Linked DNA regions of Homo sapiens: region 2 is linked to region 1. The links are contacts of gene promoters, found by promoter capture Hi-C in blood cells and fetal thymus (Javierre and others, 2016). All regions are on one chromosome and are shown on one strand. Each heading gives the region's core, a stretch centred on a gene start or on the middle of the fragment in contact. The rest is flanking DNA. Distances are from core to core; before and after follow the strand shown.

Evidence for each region. Contacts are between HindIII fragments. The CHiCAGO score rates a contact against its expected background, and 5 or more counts as called.
Region 2: a contact is called between a fragment that was not itself captured here and the fragment with the promoter of MAP4K2 in region 1, in 6 of 17 cell types (endothelial precursors, total B cells, erythroblasts and 3 more). The highest score is 7.4, in endothelial precursors.

The regions. Positions count from the first base shown.
Region 1 is chr11:64,801,964-64,804,463 of GRCh38, reverse strand. MAP4K2 (mitogen-activated protein kinase kinase kinase kinase 2) reads left to right here and starts at 1,250. Exons shown (of 32, transcript NM_004579.5): 1 at 1,250-1,410; 2 at 1,522-1,579; 3 at 1,811-1,901; 4 at 1,981-2,045; 5 at 2,343-2,398. The coding sequence starts at 1,315. MEN1 (menin 1) reads left to right here. Exons shown (of 10, transcript NM_001370259.2): 10 at 1-948. The coding sequence ends at 130. RefSeq lists silencers at 1,111-1,290, 1,441-1,620. The HindIII fragment of the contact is 47,852 bases long and covers 1-2,500 here.
Region 2 is chr11:65,016,417-65,020,134 of GRCh38, reverse strand. It overlaps ARL2 (ARF like GTPase 2), which reads right to left. Exons shown (of 5, transcript NM_001667.4): 2 at 1,661-1,771; 3 at 1,402-1,564. ARL2-SNX15 (ARL2-SNX15 readthrough (NMD candidate)) reads right to left here. Exons shown (of 11, transcript NR_037650.2): 2 at 1,661-1,771; 3 at 1,402-1,564. It overlaps MIR6879 (microRNA 6879), which reads right to left and starts at 1,630; the gene lies at 1,565-1,630. The HindIII fragment of the contact is 196 bases long and covers 2,039-2,234 here.

The DNA.
Region 1 (2,500 bases), core at 1-2,500:
CAAGATCAACTCGAGCGCCATCAAGCTGCAACTCACGGCACAGTCGCAAGTGCAGATGAAGAAGCAGAAAGTGTCCACCCCTAGTGACTACACTCTGTCTTTCCTCAAGCGGCAGCGCAAAGGCCTCTGAACTACTGGGGACTTCGGACCGCTTGTGGGGACCCAGGCTCCGCCCTTAGTCCCCCAACTCTGAGCCCATGTTCTGCCCCCAGCCCAAAGGGGACAGGCCTCACCTCTACCCAAACCCTAGGTTCCCGGTCCCGAGTACAGTCTGTATCAAACCCACGATTTTCTCCAGCTCAGAACCCAGGGCTCTGCCCCAGTCGTTAGAATATAGGTCTCTTCTCCCAGAATCCCAGCCGGCCAATGGAAACCTCACGCTGGGTCCTAATTACCAGTCTTTAAAGGCCCAGCCCCTAGAAACCCAAGCTCCTCCTCGGAACCGCTCACCTAGAGCCAGACCAACGTTACTCAGGGCTCCTCCCAGCTTGTAGGAGCTGAGGTTTCACCCTTAACCCAAGGAGCACAGGTCCCACCTCCAGCCCGGGAGCCTAGGACCACTCAGCCCCTAGGAGTATATTTCCGCACTTCAGAATTCCATATCTTGCGAATCCAAGCTCCCTGCCCCAAATAACTTCAGTCCTGCTCCAGAATTTGGAAATCCTAGTTTCCTCTCCTTCGTATCCCGAGTCTGGGACACAAAACTCCGCCCCCAGCCTATGAGCATCCTGAGCCCCGCCCTCTTCCTGACGAAACTGGCCCCGGATCAGAGCAGGACCTCCCTTCCGACCCTCTGGGAACCTCCCAGAGGTCCAGCCCATCTCGGAGCATCCCGGAGGAAATCTGCAGAGGGTTAGGAGTGGGTGACAAGAGCCTGATCTCTTCCTGTTTTGTACATAGATTTATTTTTCAGTTCCAAGAAAGATGAATACATTTTGTTAAAAAAAATATAAAGCGCAAGTCCATGTTTATCTGGGAAATTGGGGATGGGGCGGGGAGTGGAGCGCCCCCTCTTCCCTCTGTCTTCTGGCTCCCGGGACTTTGCGCTCCCTACCTGTGGAGCGCGAGCGACAGTGGCGGCGGAAGGACGTAGGCTCCGCCCCGGCCTTGGGGCTTCCCCGCGCCGCCGAGGGCCCGTCCCGCGGGCGCCTCCTCCCGGACTGGCGGTGGGGCATCCCCGGCGCGGCCCCGCCCCCGGGCCTCAGCCCCGCCCCCGCGGCCTCAGAGCCACGGGCGCCCGCCCCGCCCCGCGCCGCCCCGCGCCGGCTCCGCAGCTCGCGCCCGCCCGCCTGCCGGCCCGCCCGGCGCCGGGCCATGGCGCTGCTGCGGGATGTGTCGCTGCAGGACCCGCGGGACCGCTTCGAGCTGCTGCAGCGCGTGGGGGCCGGGACCTATGGCGACGTCTACAAGGTGCGACGGGACGGGCGGGAGAGCCGGGAGGAGGGTGCCAGCCCCGCACCCCGCGGCAGGATCTAGCCCCCGGCCCCGCCCCCCATCCCGCTTCACCCTCCGCCCCTGCAGGCCCGCGACACGGTCACGTCCGAACTGGCCGCCGTGAAGATAGTCAAGCTAGACCCAGGTGAGGGCCCGGGTCGGGCCTCTGCGCCAGAGGAAGGGCAGAGCGCCCGCGGGCGCGGGGTGCGGGCGGAGGGTTGACGTTTCCGAGACCCCTGAGAGGCGTGCCCCGGGAGGTGCTGTCACCTGCACCTGCCTGGCCCGGAGGGAGGCACTCTGTGCCCATTTTGCAGATGGGGGCACTGAGTCAGGGCAACCCCAGCGCGCCTTCCCCATGATGCTTTGTGCTTCCCAGGGGACGACATCAGCTCCCTCCAGCAGGAAATCACCATCCTGCGTGAGTGCCGCCACCCCAATGTGGTGGCCTACATTGGCAGCTACCTCAGGTGAGGCTGCCTTATCCTCCTGGCCCCAGGCAGCCCCCATGTGACCTGCTTTGTGCCCACCCCAGCTCTTTGTCCCTAGGAATGACCGCTTGTGGATCTGCATGGAGTTCTGCGGAGGGGGCTCCCTGCAGGAGATTTACCATGGTGAGGCCAGGGCTCCAGGCCCCAGCAGGCCCCAGCCTTCCCCCACCCCTACCCCACTGGGGTACCAGAGGGGACTCTGGGCCCTGGACTTGGGCTCCTCTCCACTCCTGCCTGGCTGTGTGACCTTGAGAGAAATACTGTCCATCTCTGGGTTCAGTATCCTAGACTAAACTGGGAGGGGACGTGGCCAACACCGCTTTCATTTAACAGTGCCTGCTGCTTTTCCCACACACGGTAGCCTGGGAGGGTGGGCATGACCCCCGGGCCCCCAAGCCAGCCTCTCCCTTTTCCTTTCAGCCACTGGGCCCCTGGAGGAGCGGCAGATTGCCTACGTCTGCCGAGAGGCACTGAAGGTAGCTGGGCCTGTGAGGTGCCCACACCTCTGGTCTCCAGAAGCTGTGGGCCAGGAGCCCAGATGACCAGCAGGGAGGCGGGTGGAGTGCCTCGGGTGGGGC
Region 2 (3,718 bases), core at 887-3,386, 210 kb before region 1:
TGCATAAGATGATCCCTGAGCTCTCCGTGGTTCTAGACTGCTCCAATCTGATGACCAGACATGCACAGAGGATGTGAACTCTCCCTCTTCTGGGTTCACACAGCCCTTTAACCGTTCCACTCCCGACAGGCCTCACTGTCCACCTCTGATTCTAGTTGTTTCCACATATGTGTCTGTGATTGGGAGAGATGTGGGTGGACGGGTCTAACCCTTGGGCCTTGACCTGCCTTGACCAGCATTTGACGGCCCTGATCTCATCTGACCTGCTCCACCCACATAGGAGATGTGTGCGGTGTGCCCAGGACAGTCCCCACTCTGCCTGCAGAATCCCCCCTTTCACTCTCACAAGTGTCCTCATTTTCAACTAAATGCAATTTTGTAGCCTGAATCAAACATTGGAACACAAAAAGTATATTAGTGGAAAAACGTGAAATTCAAATAAAATCTGTAATTAAGATAATAGTAATTCACCAGTGTTGATTTATTAGTTTGGACAGGCCACGGTTAGGTAAGATGGGGAAGCAAGGTAAAGGGTATATGGGGGACCTCTGACCTCTGTACTATCTTTGCAAGTGTCCTTCTTTTTTTTTTTTGAGACGGAGTCTCACTCTGTTGCCCAGGCTGGAGTGCAGTGGCACAATCTCGGCTCACTGCAAGCTCCGCCTCCCAGGTTCACGCCATTTTCCTGCCTCAGCCTCCTGAGTAGCTGGGACTACAGGCGCCCGCCACCATGCCTGGCTAATTTTTTGTATTTTTAGTAGACACGGGGTTTCACCATGTTAGCCAGGACGGTCTCGATCTCCTGACCTCGTGATCCGCCCGCTTCAGCCTCCCAAAGTGCTGGGATTACAGGCGTGAGCCACCGCACCTGGCCCCTTCCTTTTTTTTTTTTTTTGAGACAGGGTCTTGCTCTGTCGCCCAGGAGGCTGGAGTGCAGTGGCACGATCACAGCTCACTGCAGCCTCAACCTCCTGGGCTCAACTGATCCTCCTGTCTGAGCCTCCAGAGTAGCTAGGACTATAGGTGCGTGCCACCACCCCCAGCTGAGGTCACACAGCAAAGAGTCAGACTCTTGAGCCAGGCTCCATGGCCTCTCGAAGCTTCATACTGGCCTTGGGTTATCCTCCCTAAAGCCCAGTGATGTGGGTGTCATCATCACCATTTCAAGGCATAGAAACTGATGCTCAGGGTAGTGACGTAGTAACACCACAGGGACGTTAACTCAATCTCAGTCCACAGCATGTGTCCTGCCTCTGGCACCATGGGCCTCCCATGGTGGGGGCCCAGAGAAGGAAGGGATCCTGCCTCTGGTTTCCCTCTGGGGCCACGGGCCCCTCTGGGCATCTGCTGAGAAGGCAGCCACACGTCCATACATGTACACAAAGGGTAGGAGCTGCCCACCTCCTCCACCAGCAGGCTCTGGAGCTCCCGCTGGCAGTCCTGCATGCGCTGGCGGTCTGCGCTGTCCACTACCCAGATGAGGCCATCGGTGCTCTCAAAGTAGTTCCGCCAGTAGGACCGCAGGGACTTCTGGCCACCCACATCCCAGATGTTCAGCTTGAATCTGGGCAAGGAGCGGGTGACAGGAGGGTCAGCTGGGCCCCTCTCCCACCTTCCCTGCCCTGCTCTGGGCTGGCCCTCCCATGGGGCCCCTGCTCACCCTCGGTGCTCCAGGGTCTTGATGTTGAAGCCCAGCGTTGGGGAGATGGTGTCGATGTCCTCCCCATTGAACTTCTTCAGGATGGTTGTCTTTCCAGCATTGTCCAGGCCACTGGGGCGCAGCAGGTTAAGGAGAAGTCCCTGTTCTCTGCCAGGTGGTGACATTGTTGCAGAGCCCCTTAGGGGACTCATTATTTCCCACCATGTATCAAACTGAGTTGAGCACATGCCTGACCATAATCGGCCCACAATAAATATGAAAGTATCAAATTATAAATATCATCTCTACTGACCAAAGGCTCCTTAATTTGTTGAACACCTACTATGTGCCAGACCCTCTTCTGGGTGCTAGAGGACAAAGCCCTGCCCTTAGGAAGCTTACACTCTAGCGGGAAGACAGTCAATAAAGTACAAACAAATGAGAAAAGAAGGCCCTGCCAGATCCCGGCTAGCGCCATCAACACAACAGAGAGGCTTTCCAAGAGGGCCATCGGAGGAGGCTCTTTCAGCTCAGGTGCCGGGGAAGGCCTCTCTGAGGTGTCTGGAGCTGAGACCCAAAATACAAGGAGCAAGCTTTTTGAAGAACTAAGGTAAGAACAAATATCTGGAGGCAGCCACCCTCATTTGTTTCTGGAATATTCCAGACCTGCTACTGCACAGTGCAAATTAATGGGTGTGCTTACCTGTGGAAGGAACCACCCTCCTCTATCTTCCCAACACTGCAGCTCAGTTGGGCATGGTGGGGTGGGCGGGTCCTGGACTCGACCACCTTTCCCTGCTCATCGGAGCTGGGGCAAATGACCTAGGCCCAGGAGAGGGGTGAGGAGGGCATTTCCCCTGAGGCCCAGCCTTAGCCCCTGGAACCTAGCCGCTGATGACCCCCTGCCCCCAAGCCATCATCCATGTTTCCTTCCCCTCTTGATCATTCCCACTGGCTGATGAGCTTGCCGTTCTTTCTCCCACCTTAAAAAGAGCAAATAGGCCGGGCGCGGTGGCTCACACCTGTAATCCCAGCACTTTGGGAGGCCAAGGTGGGTGGATCATCTGAGGTCAGGAGTTCGAAACCAGCCTGACCAACAAGGTGAAACCCCATCTCTACTAAAACTACAAAAATCAGCCAGGCGTGGTGGCGGGCCCCTATAGTCCCAGCTACTCGGGAGGCTGAGACAGGAGAATTGCTTGAACCCGGCAGGCAGAGGTTGCAATGAGCCGAGATCACACCACTGTACTCCAGCCTGGGCGACTCAGCGAGACCCCGTCTGATTAAAAAAAAAAAAAGAGCAAACAAAGCCCTTGATCTCTCTGCCCCATCTAGTTATTCATTTATATCTTTCCTTTTACAGGAAATCTCAAAATAGTTGTTTGTGCTCACCCCCATTTCTGCCTTCTTGCTCTTTCAAGAACACACTCCCATCAGGCTTTTGCTGCTGCTGTGGCCAAAACTGTCCTTACCAAGGTCAGTCCCCAAAGACCTCCCTGTGGCCCTCTAGTGCTGGGACAGCGCTCAGTCATCTTCTGTTCCCCACTCAGCACCTGATGGAGTGGCTCACCCTCCTCCCCAGCACATGCGCTGCCCTTGGCACTGGGACACACCCTCACCTGGTTCTGCTCCTCACCTGACTTCATCCTGGTACAACCGGGTTCTCTTCTCTGGCCACGCTCATCCCTGGGTGACCTCATCCAGGATCACAGCTTCAAATACCATCTCTATCCTGATAACACCCAAATGTGCACCTCCCACACACTGGACCTCAGTGCCTACATCCAGCTGCCTGCCTGACACTTCTGGGCTGTCTCGGAGGCATCTCACATGGCACACACAGGCACACACAGGGTTCTCATCTCCACCCTGAACCTGCTCCTCCCCCAGTCCTCTCCATCTCAGCAAATGGTTCCTCACCCTTCTAATTGCTCAGGCCAGAAACTTCCATGACCTCACTACTTCCATCCTGGTCCAAGCCACCATCCTATCTCGCCTGCGTCACTGCAGTGGCCTAACTGGTCTGCGATTCCTTCTCTCCACTGCACTTCTCACTGAAAGGGAAAACCAAAAACCAAA